4 separate regions of the Homo sapiens genome follow, and all the other regions are linked to region 3. The links are contacts of gene promoters, found by promoter capture Hi-C in blood cells and fetal thymus (Javierre and others, 2016). All regions are on one chromosome and are shown on one strand. The core of a region is centred on a gene start or on the middle of the fragment in contact, and the rest is flanking DNA. Distances in the headings are between cores, read along the strand shown.

What was found. Contacts are between HindIII fragments. The CHiCAGO score rates a contact against its expected background, and 5 or more counts as called.
Region 1: a contact is called between a fragment that was not itself captured here and the fragment with the promoter of PSMD6-AS1 in region 3, in 1 of 17 cell types (M2 macrophages). The highest score is 5.7, in M2 macrophages.
Region 2: a contact is called between a fragment that was not itself captured here and the fragment with the promoter of PSMD6-AS1 in region 3, in 2 of 17 cell types (monocytes and M1 macrophages). The highest score is 7.7, in monocytes.
Region 4: a fragment that was not itself captured here is called in contact with the fragment with the promoter of PSMD6-AS1 in region 3 in 9 of 17 cell types (monocytes, M1 macrophages, M0 macrophages and 6 more); the score reaches 17.2 in monocytes.

What each region holds. Positions count from the first base shown.
Region 1 is chr3:63,367,031-63,369,730 of GRCh38, forward strand. The region is part of intron 2 of SYNPR (synaptoporin); the gene reads left to right. Among named protein-coding and RNA genes, the nearest start is that of SYNPR, 90 kb to the left of the region's middle. The HindIII fragment of the contact is 1,110 bases long and covers 737-1,846 here.
Region 2 is chr3:63,330,393-63,333,092 of GRCh38, forward strand. The region is part of intron 2 of SYNPR (synaptoporin); the gene reads left to right. Among named protein-coding and RNA genes, the nearest start is that of SYNPR, 53 kb to the left of the region's middle. The HindIII fragment of the contact is 2,866 bases long and covers 1-2,700 here.
Region 3 is chr3:64,010,616-64,013,315 of GRCh38, forward strand. It overlaps PSMD6-AS1 (PSMD6 antisense RNA 1), which reads left to right and starts at 1,349. Exons shown (of 2, transcript NR_189168.1): 1 at 1,349-1,427. It overlaps PSMD6 (proteasome 26S subunit, non-ATPase 6), which reads right to left. Exons shown (of 8, transcript NM_014814.3): 7 at 263-340; 8 at 1-149. The coding sequence ends at 53. It overlaps PSMD6-AS2 (PSMD6 antisense RNA 2), which reads left to right. Exons shown (of 3, transcript NR_038286.1): 3 at 1,182-1,628. The HindIII fragment of the contact is 1,623 bases long and covers 453-2,075 here.
Region 4 is chr3:63,350,471-63,353,170 of GRCh38, forward strand. All of the region lies in intron 2 of SYNPR (synaptoporin), which reads left to right. Among named protein-coding and RNA genes, the nearest start is that of SYNPR, 74 kb to the left of the region's middle. The HindIII fragment of the contact is 4,284 bases long and covers 1-2,700 here.

The sequences.
Region 1 (2,700 bases), core at 42-2,541, 640 kb before region 3:
AATACCATTTTGCCTTTTGTCTATAATTTGTGGGCATACCTGGAAATTCTAGGCCAGATGTGAAACTTCAAGATGGATCTCCTAGCACTTTTGGGGTTACAAACTCCCCAGCAAATTTGAGATTGTTGAGATATTATCCAGGCCCACTGGGGAAAGTAAGGAGTAATTTTATATTTTATAATACCAAGTAGAACTTTGAATTTATAAGTGAGAATCTTGTAAAAATTCAGAGTGTTGAGTTAGAGAAAGACTCCTACATAAATACAGTACATTCTGAAGTTTGGAAAATATCCTCTAAGCATCACTGTTGAATTATTTATTTATTTATTTATTTATTTATTTAATTTTAGATAAGATCTGGCTCTATCTCCCAGGCTGGAGTGCAGTCCTGCGATCTCGGGTTACTGCACCCTCCACCTCCCAGGCTCAAACCCTCCCAACTCAACTTCCAAAGTAGCTGACACTACAGGAACATGCACCATGCCCAGCTAATTTTTAGATTTTTGGTAGACATGGGGTTTTACCATGTTGCCCAGCCTCGTCTCAAACTTCTGAGCTCAGGTGATCTGCCTGCCTCGGCCTCCTAAAGTGAGTGCTAGGATTACAGGTGTGAGCTATTGCATCTGGCCTTGAATTATAATTTAAATAATTCATGAGCTAGTTACCAATTTTAATACTAATATTTCAACTAGGGAAACAGGCCCAGAGATGGTAAGTGACTTTCCTGGGAACATAAAGCTTTTAAGTAATAAAATAATAACTCACACCTACATGTTTCTTCCCATTTCCCCAGATCTGAAGTTTGGATTTTATTTTTAAGAGGGCAAGCACAATCACTGATGATTTTCTGCAGGAAGTGACAGTGATAATACTAGTAGTTAAAGGTTAGTATTGCCGTGATATTCTACAGAGATTGGGTGGTAAGGATCAAGTAAAATGGAAATTAGGGGCATAGGATCAGTTTAGAGGTTATTACAGCAATCTCAGTGTGATAAAAACTGATGTATTGAGAAACGAGACATTGATTTTGGCAGCAAGAAATTTTTAAAAAGTAGAGATGAGCCTGCATGATGTTTAGAAGGAGGATTTATAGAATTTAGTGACAGGCTATGGAGCATCAAAGAGAGAGGTGTTTGCCTGGACCAAGAGCAATTGCAAAGCTGAGAACTATGCACGTTTCATTCACAGATATCTGCCTTGGTTAGCACATTGTCTGCTTCCCAGCAGAGGTTCAGTAAATACTTGGATAATACATTAATGAGTGACCAGTGGTAATGCCAGGCTTTGAGCTGAGTGTCCTACAGGGAAGCAGAGAAAGAGTGCAAGAAAGGGCGCTAGTTTGAATGAAAGAGGAATGTGATGTTGCATATGCTGAGTTCCAGTTGAGAAAATTGAAGATGAAGAGCTTCAAGTTGGATGTAAAAGACCCAAGTTCTGAGGCAATTCAAGTCTGGAGATGTCACTGCAGGGTCACTTGTGAAAAAGGCGATGATTGAGTTACTTAAAGGGACAAGATTTTCTTAAGATTAATGGGGAAGGAACAGGCCAGACGAGTGAATCTGGACCTCAGAGAAGCAAAATTAGGAGAAGGAATAACAAAGAGTTCTGTGGAGTATAAAGCCATGGTCATTAAGGAAGGATCATATTTTCAATCAGAGGTGGCAGTGATGGTGTGCAGTGCTACAGACTGAACCAGGAAAGATAGAATGAAAAAAATGGCCTTTGATTTTGGCTGAAGAAGTTTATTGACAGTTTTGGAAAGAGGTATTTTATTTATACAGTGTTGCTTCAAGTCAGATTGTGAAGATTTGACAAGTGATTGTGTTGTTGATAGACATTCAAACAAAGCTTCAACAAGGACATTTCTTAGAGTTGAGAAGGACACCTTACATGAAGATGCTGTTGTTGTCAAGATAGGGAGAAATAAATCCTCTGTACTCATGGTCTGTGTTATGAGCTAAATCATGTGTCTGCAAAATTCACAATTTGATGTCTTAACCCCCAATATCTCAGAATGTCACTGTATTTAATGGTAAGGTCTTTAAAGAGGAGTTTAAGTTAAAATGAGGCCCTTAGAGTGGGAACTTAATCCAATATGACTGGTGTCCTTTTAGGAAGTGAAAGAGACACCAGGAACATGCATGCACAAAAGGCGGCCATGTGAAGAGGCAACAAGAGGGTGGCTGTCTGCAAGCTAAGGACAGGGACCTCAGGAGAATCCAACTCTGCTGACACTTTGATCCTGGACTCCAGCCTCCAGAACTCTGAGAAAATAAAGTTCTGTTGTCAAAATCATTTTGCCTTGGCAGCCTGAGCAAACTGATAGAGTCTGCAAAATGGAGGAGGGGGTTAAGTGTGGAAAGAGGAGCACCCAGTATAGGGAAAGTAGATCTCAGAGAATATATGTACCTGCAAAAACAACATAAAATCAATTGAAAAGTTAAAACAATTAAATGCTTATGGCCAAATAACATAAGCTATGTGATATTTCTTTATCTTTTACTTTTCTAAAACATTTTAATATTTGTGTTTTCCCACTGGATGCACCAATCCAATGCTTTAAAGTTTGGAACCTGGTGTTCAAGCTTCGTAAGATGGAATCAATTTTCCATTTTGCTGTCTTTGTGTTGTTGTCTCTTAACAAACCACTACCCACTGGTGTGAAGGCGAAGCAGAGAGGCTTTGACATTGCTCTCAAAG
Region 2 (2,700 bases), core at 102-2,601, 680 kb before region 3:
GTGGCTGGATCAAGTATTTTAAATGATGTAATTGGGGATCTACCTTTCTGTCTCCCCTCTTTTTTTTATTTATAGAAAGAGTCTCACCTCATGCAGCCACGGGTTCAAGTTTAAGTGATTCTTCCTGCTTGAGACCGCAGAAAGAGAGAGACTATTTCTCTCTCAGTGTGCATCTCAGTCCTTAAATAAAAGCTCTGACCAAAGTAGGGATAAAAAGAGGAGATGATAAACACTTATAAAATATTCTTATATACTGGTCACAATTTAATACTTTATAAGTTTTAATTCCTTTAATCTATGTATGAGCCCTATAAAAGAGGAATTATTATTATTGTTACTATTATTATTTCTGTTTTACAGATAAGAAAGTTGAGGTCCAGAGAGATTAAGTGACTTGTCCAAGGTTGTATAACTTGCAGTTGAAGAGCTAGCTATGGGAGTCTAGGAATGGAACAGATGCTCTTGATGATCCACCTCATTATAGAATCGTGTAATGAATAGCCCCATTAGATAAGGAAGAAAAGTTTCTACGATGAAACTGTCTGTTCAGACAAAAAAAATTAACAGTAAGAGAGACCTACTAATCTTATCCTCTAGACCTAGTTCACACTTGTACAGGTAACTGAACTCTGATTCTTCATCATCATTGTAAGGAAGGTATTGGCCTAGATGAGGGTCAGAAAATACACAGCACATATATCATTACCACCACTATGACCACACTGTGCCTAGGACAGACATCACTAATTGATCATTGCATTATGTGTCCCTTAAATCTAGATGAAGCCTCAGGATTCTTCCCAACACACTGATCCAGGCAACCTTAAAACTGAACAGAGTTTACAGGTGAAAATGAAACCTATTGCCGTTCTAGGATTAAAGGATCTCTCAACATACTTCTGGGACTATCATTTCAGAATTCTTCTAAGGCAGCCACAAATAAATGCCTTTTAGATAATAAAGCATAACCACAGGAGTTTATTAGATGCTCATGAGCAAGTGCAGTCTTTAGAATTCTTCAAGAATCCTCTTGTCTGTGTCCCAATTCATCCTGCTAAACCATTTGGTTTGTTCTGTTCCTTTTCCTCTAATAATAACAAAAGGAAGAGTAGTAATATACCATAACCCTCTCTTCTTAAATGCTCACGTATCTTTATACTAACGCTTTGAAGCTCATTCCACCAAGACCACTCTGAAAGGCCAGTAGTCTAGAAGGGGCTTGGGCTTAAATATAAGTCCATGCTAACACTTTTACTTGAGGAACTTAAAAAAATTATTTACAGGATGTGAACCTGCTATTAGCAGCCCAGTAGTAAGAACCTGCTGTTAGTACACTCTCCCACTTTCTTTATGAGGAAATTGAAACTGAGAGAGGTTCAGAAACTTTTCTAAAGTCACACAGAATTGGACCGTGGACCTCAGACTTCTCACAACAAATCAACAAATATCTACTGAGTTTTAATGTGCCAGGCTGTGTGCCAGGAGCTGAGGTTTGGAAGAGGCATAAGTTGATATGCCTCTTCTGGCATTTACTTTCTAGTAGGCTAGATGGGAAAAATTGAAAATGATGGGATTAAAAACAGTTGCTTTATGAATCCCAAAGTTGTCTTCGACTGGTAGGCAGTTCTTGAGGGGCAATGCTTCCATCTTTTCTGAGGCATGTTCCTTTCAAAACATGCTGAGCATATAGATCTGGAAAAAACATTTCAGAAGAAGACCTATAGTGTGGAGGATGCCTGAGTTTTATAATTGGACTTTATGAAGTCACATGCTCCTTTCTGCCTCAGAAACTTCAGGCTGTAGTTCCCTGGGCTTGGCTTTCTCTTCTTCACCCCTCTTTACTCCCTACCCTAGCTCACCCTGTGTGTTCAGATCCAACCTCCCTTGCACAGGAAAGTGTTCCCTGACTGTGCTCTGCCACCCTCCATCCTCAGGTTTGATCCCTTTACCCTTGCATGGCTTTGTACAGCTCACTTGTTTATACTTCGGAAGTAACTGATCAATTAATGACTGCGTCTCACATCAGAATGTAAGTTCCATGAGGGCCAAAATATATCTGCCCTATCTGCCCTTTCTCCTATTGCATCCTTAGACTTTAGGTCAGTACTTTGCACAGACTACTTACTCAGTATATTTATGGAAGAAAGGAAGGAGGGAAGAAAGGGAGAGAAGAGAGAAGGTATGGGTGGATGGGTTTTAACCTTAATAATAATGAAACATTTATTGAACACTTTTGATGTCTCAGGCTTCTTCGATCATTTGGTCTTAAGCACAACCCTGGAATATAGGTTCCATCATCCCTGTTTTATAAACAGTGAATTGAAGCCCAGAGTGGTTTAGTGACTTCCCCAAAGTCACCCAGCTATTTGGTGACGCATCAAGGATCTGAATTCAGTCTGTGTGACTGCAAGGTTCTTTTTAGTCTATATTATCCAAGAGCATGGTTAATCAATGTTGGCACAGTTGACATTTTGGGCTGCCTGGTCCCTTGGTTTGGAGGCTGCCCTGAGTTTGTGGGATGGCAGTGGCATCCCAGGCCTCTGCTCATAGATATCAGTAATACATCCCCCTGCCCCATCTCCGCCACCAGTTGGACAACCAAAAATGTCTCCAGATACTGTCTCCTAGGAGACAAAAATCATCACTGGCTGAGAACCACTGCCTTAGAATAATAAGTCATATCCTAAAAACAGCATATTA
Region 3 (2,700 bases), core at 99-2,598:
AAAAATTCCAAATAATTATCTCTAAAGCAAATCCTTTGTTAGTTACATGGCTTTACATATTAATTACTCTGGAAAGTTTTTGAACTCTGTTTAGTAGCAGATCTCCTTTCTTGATAGTTTCTTGGTACTGCCAGTTCTTGCTATCAGGTCTATAAATAAATTCAAGAAAAAATGAATTATTTACCAGTCACATTATTCCATGACAATAGTTGACCTACTTTTAAAATTTAGGAATGCCCCTTATTCTGAGAAATGAGAGTACCTGTTGGTTTCTACTATTTCATTCACTTTATCTATTTTGCAGTGTAGTCTCCCGGCAGCAATAAACCTGGACAGTTCCCTAATTTAGAGACAAAAAATAACAGAATTAGCTTTATAGAAAATTCTTAGAAAAATGCAAACGGCATTAAAATACTGTCTTAAATTTGTAACAAACATTTAGCTTCCCTTCAAGCTTGTTATTGCACATGCAGTAGTTGACGTTGTCCCTCCTATACTGCAGGCTTTAAGTCATCATCTACTAGAATAAACATGATCCTAGAAGTTCATATTCAGATAGATAGAAAGTAGATCAAACAATGAAACCATATGTACTCAGAGAAAAACTGTAGGTTAGGAAAAATTAGGGACCAAAACTGATAAAAACAGTAAACTGTTTCAAACAAAAGACCTAAAACAAAATTATGGAACACAGCCCATCAGTAAACATGTCAACAGCAATAGTATTAACATGTCAACAGCAATAGTATTTACTAAAACAACGACCCTTTCCCTCTCTAACATATCTTAGTCTAAACAAGTGGAAGGGAAGGGGAGAAATGATGTAGAATTATTGCTTTGCCCATTTTAAAAAAGGGGATTTCATCTAAAATGTAACTTTTTAAGGGAGAAAAAAAGAATAAAGAATCCATGACAACCCAGATTTGAAATTCTTAGGTATCACAGAAATTTAAAACAAGGCCTTTTTAGGTAACAACAACTAGAGCTCAGTGGTACAACCTTTGCCTCTCAAGCTGGTCTTAGAACATGAAGGGAAAAAAAAAAAACTGAACAAATACTACCTGAATTCAACTACTACCTGAAAGGTACCAGCTGCCTTGCATTCACTTGTCATCAAGATGACTTAAGGAATACTGCGGTGTGTGCCCCTAACTAATGAAGGCTTTATCTCCACATTACAGTTACGATACTGAAGAGACGTAACCTGACCAAGGCCACAGAGCTGGAAAAAGAAGCAAAGCCAAGCCGTTTTTCTCATGCACTGCTCACAACAAGCCCCTCCTTCCACTGACTCATGAAAAACACACTCATAATGCCCAGCCCGCACCCTAATGAACAGCCCTCTTAAGAGTGGTCATCAGACTTCAATTTCACAGACTAGAATTGAGAAATGGAACAAAACCTTGGGATACCAGCCTTCCATTTTGGTAGGGATCATTTAAAAAATGGTAGGGATCATTTAAAAAATGTGTTGGTGTCTGAAACTTACTTTGAAGTGGTTAAAAAACATAAAATGTATAGATTGTAACAAGCAAATATGTTAAAATGTACTGTACAATTCTTTCTTTACAATTTTATGGATGTTCGAAATTTAAAAAATACTAGAAAGAGAATGGTCTTATTTAAAAGAAATGCATCTTCATTTAAAGTTTCCACTGCAGACCATTGAAAACACCATCATCAACATTTAAAAACACCTACATGTGGGAGCCACTGATCTAGATGCCATCTGGACATCCCATATTGAGTATGTCTCCTACCCAACTCTACTCTCACCACCCTCGTCCACGCCACGGTAACATCTCCTCTAAGAGCTACTAAACAGCACAACTGGTCCTCTCTGCCACCTTACTCTATTTCTTATATAAAGACACTGCATAGGACCATGTAACTTGGGCTCTAAATCTTCCAATGGCTCCCTATCAAACTTACTTAAAACTCAAGCTCCATCCCATGACCTACAAGGCCCTACACAAATCATTACCTACCTAACTCTCCATATATTATCCTCAAAATCTCCTACCACTCCAACTATGCTGGAGCCACCCTGACATTTTCTGTTCCTACAACATCCAAGCTTATTCCTGGCTCAAAGCCTTAGCCTTTTCTATTCCCTTTTCTGCACGCAGAAGGACTCCATATGGCTGACTCCTCTCAATTCAAATCTCAGAGCAAACCTCACCTCCTTAAGCATGCCGTACGTAAGGATAGCATTTTCTCATCTCCATAGGTTCATTTCTATATGTGAAATTACGTTTTATATTTATTTGCTTCCTTGCCATCTCTTCCCTACTACTACAATGAAAGTGTGAAAAGGGAGCTGTAAAACAATACCAAACATATAGTAATGAATGGCTCATTAAGTATTTATTTGTTTAATCACTGATGCAAGTACTAAAAGTCCCACATTTAACAACCAATCTGACCAGAATTGCAGCAGCAACCTAAAAACTGGAAGGAATTATCAGAGGGAATATGACCAACTGTAAATATCAGATCTAAGAGTCATTACCGTAGCTGCAGTGTGGTCTACAAAGAAGTAACAGAAGACAACTTTTGATAACAACTGGTCTAATGACCTTTAACAAATCACTTAGCCTCACTACAACTCATCTTCCCATCTGTTAATGCAAGGGGCAGACATGACATGAGGAAGGCAGAGGCAACAGGATACGAATGTTTTGATAATACTGAGGAAAA
Region 4 (2,700 bases), core at 26-2,525, 660 kb before region 3:
AAGAAAAGCCATATTGCTAAAGCTGTGTGTGTATGCCTGTGTATGTGTGTGTAGTGTGTGTGTGCGTGCATATGCACACATGCACTTTGCAGTGAAGAGAAGAGACACTGCACTATTATGCAAAACAGCCAAAGGGACTAGGCAAAAGTGTAAGTCAAATGCCTGCAGGGAACAGGCAAATAAAATGAGTGCATAAAGCAGGCTGGCTGTTAGAAAATCAGCAGTGTGCTAAATGGAAATGACACTTGCACTTGCTATGGACACCACAATCAGAAATATACATGTATGTGCAGGGGAGACAGACAAACATGCTGTAGCAAACTGGAGAACCCTTGTCCCTCCCAATTAATAGTTGGGCCAAATCATGTCTATAGCTTGAATTGGCCCCCGAGCCCATCAGTTAGTGACTTCTCGACCTCTGTTCAAGGTGCAGCTCCTTTATGGTTACTTATTCTAAATCCTTTCCTTGTTTTACCAATGAGGAATCTGACCCTCAGTTGGGTTCCATTTAGGTCATATCCTCACTCTCTTGACTGTGTGCCCCTTATCAGACATTATGCTTTCTTGCATTTTTTTTCTCTAGTTAGTCCTATTTACGTAGTAGACTGTCCTAAAGTGAACAGTTGTCCCTGATCTTCGTTGGTTTTACAGGAGGAAATGCACTGAACATCTCAGAAGCCAGAATTCTGAGTGATCCGCCCAATTGATCTTGGCCGATTTAACCCTCAGAACAGATAAGCACCATAAGTACTGCTCATTTATTTGTTGTTGTGTTGCTCTTTTCCTCTGCTTACTTCATCCAGTTTCAGGGGTAACAGGACATTTGACATTCCCTGCTTAATGTGTTTGACAGTTTGAGTTCAAGTTGCAATACTGCATACTTCCAGTAGAGGGTACGTGTGCTTTTCAAATCAAGTGTGAGTGCACCCTAGTAGGGAATCATTCTAGCTCGCTTTCCCGTTTCCAAGAAGCAAAGATTCTTGGTTCTTTGTTGCTTTAAGAAAATTTAGGCCAGGTTTTCCTTAGACAAGGAAATTGAAATTAAAACAGTAGCTCTTTTTAGTTTTTCAGGCAATAGAGATCAAATTTGGGAGCAGTGGGTGATAACACTGAGGAATGTTATCTGAGATGACAAATTCCTGAAGGTAAATGTGACATTTGGTTTTATTACTCTCAGACTGCTTTTATAGTAATAGCATATGTAGGATAACGTTCAAAGATTATCTAAGATTTATAGATTTCATTTACTGAATAATATTTGCTAAGAACCTGCCTGCTATGTCACAAGTAAAGTTCCAGGCAACGGGGATGGAGTGGTGACAAGATAAAGCCCATTCTTCCTGTCCTGGAACTTAAGAAGTTCTAAGTGGGGGAGAGATAAAAGAAGTAGTGAAAGAATGAATGATAATTGACTCAGATACTGAGAACTGCTAAAGAATGAATGATAATCGACTCATACAGTGAGAACTGCTAAGATGCTAGGATCGGCAGCATGGGTGCTGTGGGGCAATGTGGGATGGAAAATATGAAACCTGCTCTCTGGGGAGCCGACCTGAAGGAAAGGAAGAAGCCAGCCCTGTGAAGACCTTGGAGGGAGTGCCAGGCTGAGAGGACAGTAAGTCCAAAGGTCCTGGGGTGGAAACAGAGAGAATGCCAGTAAAGCTGGGGTGTGGTGTGCACTGAGGGGAGAGGGATAGGAAATGCGGCCAAAGAGGTGAGCAGGAGTTGATCATCAAGACTTGAAGGCTTGCAAGGAGCTGTTCTTTTTTTTTCCTGTACAATTTTAGAATTTTAATGTGGGAAGGATTCTTGAAAATCCTCTCACCCAGTTCTCGAAGTGAATAAAAGAATCTCCTGAGGAGCTTTTCAAACCGGCAGATTCGGCTGGAAAATCTGATTTAGAGGCCTATAGTGAGGACTGTGGATCAGTATCATAAAGCTCGATGGTTCAGATGCAAGTAGTCCACAGATCACCTCTTGGGAAAACACTTATTTATCTGTTAAGGTTCTATGTCTACAAGCAACAGAATTCAGTTCCAGCTAACTGATGTAAACAGAGAATTTGTTAAAAGGCAACTGGGAAGCAAATAGAAAAAAGGGGACATTGATGAACAAGACCCAAATATACTTCAGGCACCTAGGTTTGCAGAAACAATGGAGAATCCTTTATGTATTAGTCCATTTCATGCTGCTAATAAATAAATACCCGAGACTGGGTAATCTATAAAGGAAAGAGGTTTAATTGACTCACAGTTCCACATGGCTGAAGAGGCTTCACAATCACGGGGGAAGACAAAGGAAGAACAAAGGGATGTCTTGCATGGTGGCAGACAAGAAAGCATGTGTAGGGGAGCTCCCCTTTGTTAAACCATCATATCTCCTAAGACTTATTCACTATCATGAGAACAGCACCGGAAAGACCTGCCCCCATGATTCAATTACCTCCCACCGGGTCCCTCCCATGACATGTGGGAATTATGGGAGCCATAATTCAACATGAGATTTGAGTGGGGACAGAGCTAAACCATATCACTTTGTCTTTTTAACTTTATTTTAATTGACAAATAATAATTGTATATATTATGTAAAGATGGTGGAGAATCTTTACAAGACACTGCAATCTGGAGAGCAACTCCATTCCAGGTTCTTTGTCTCTCAGTACAGACTACTTGCTCATTCATTAACACAGAGTTGCTTGGC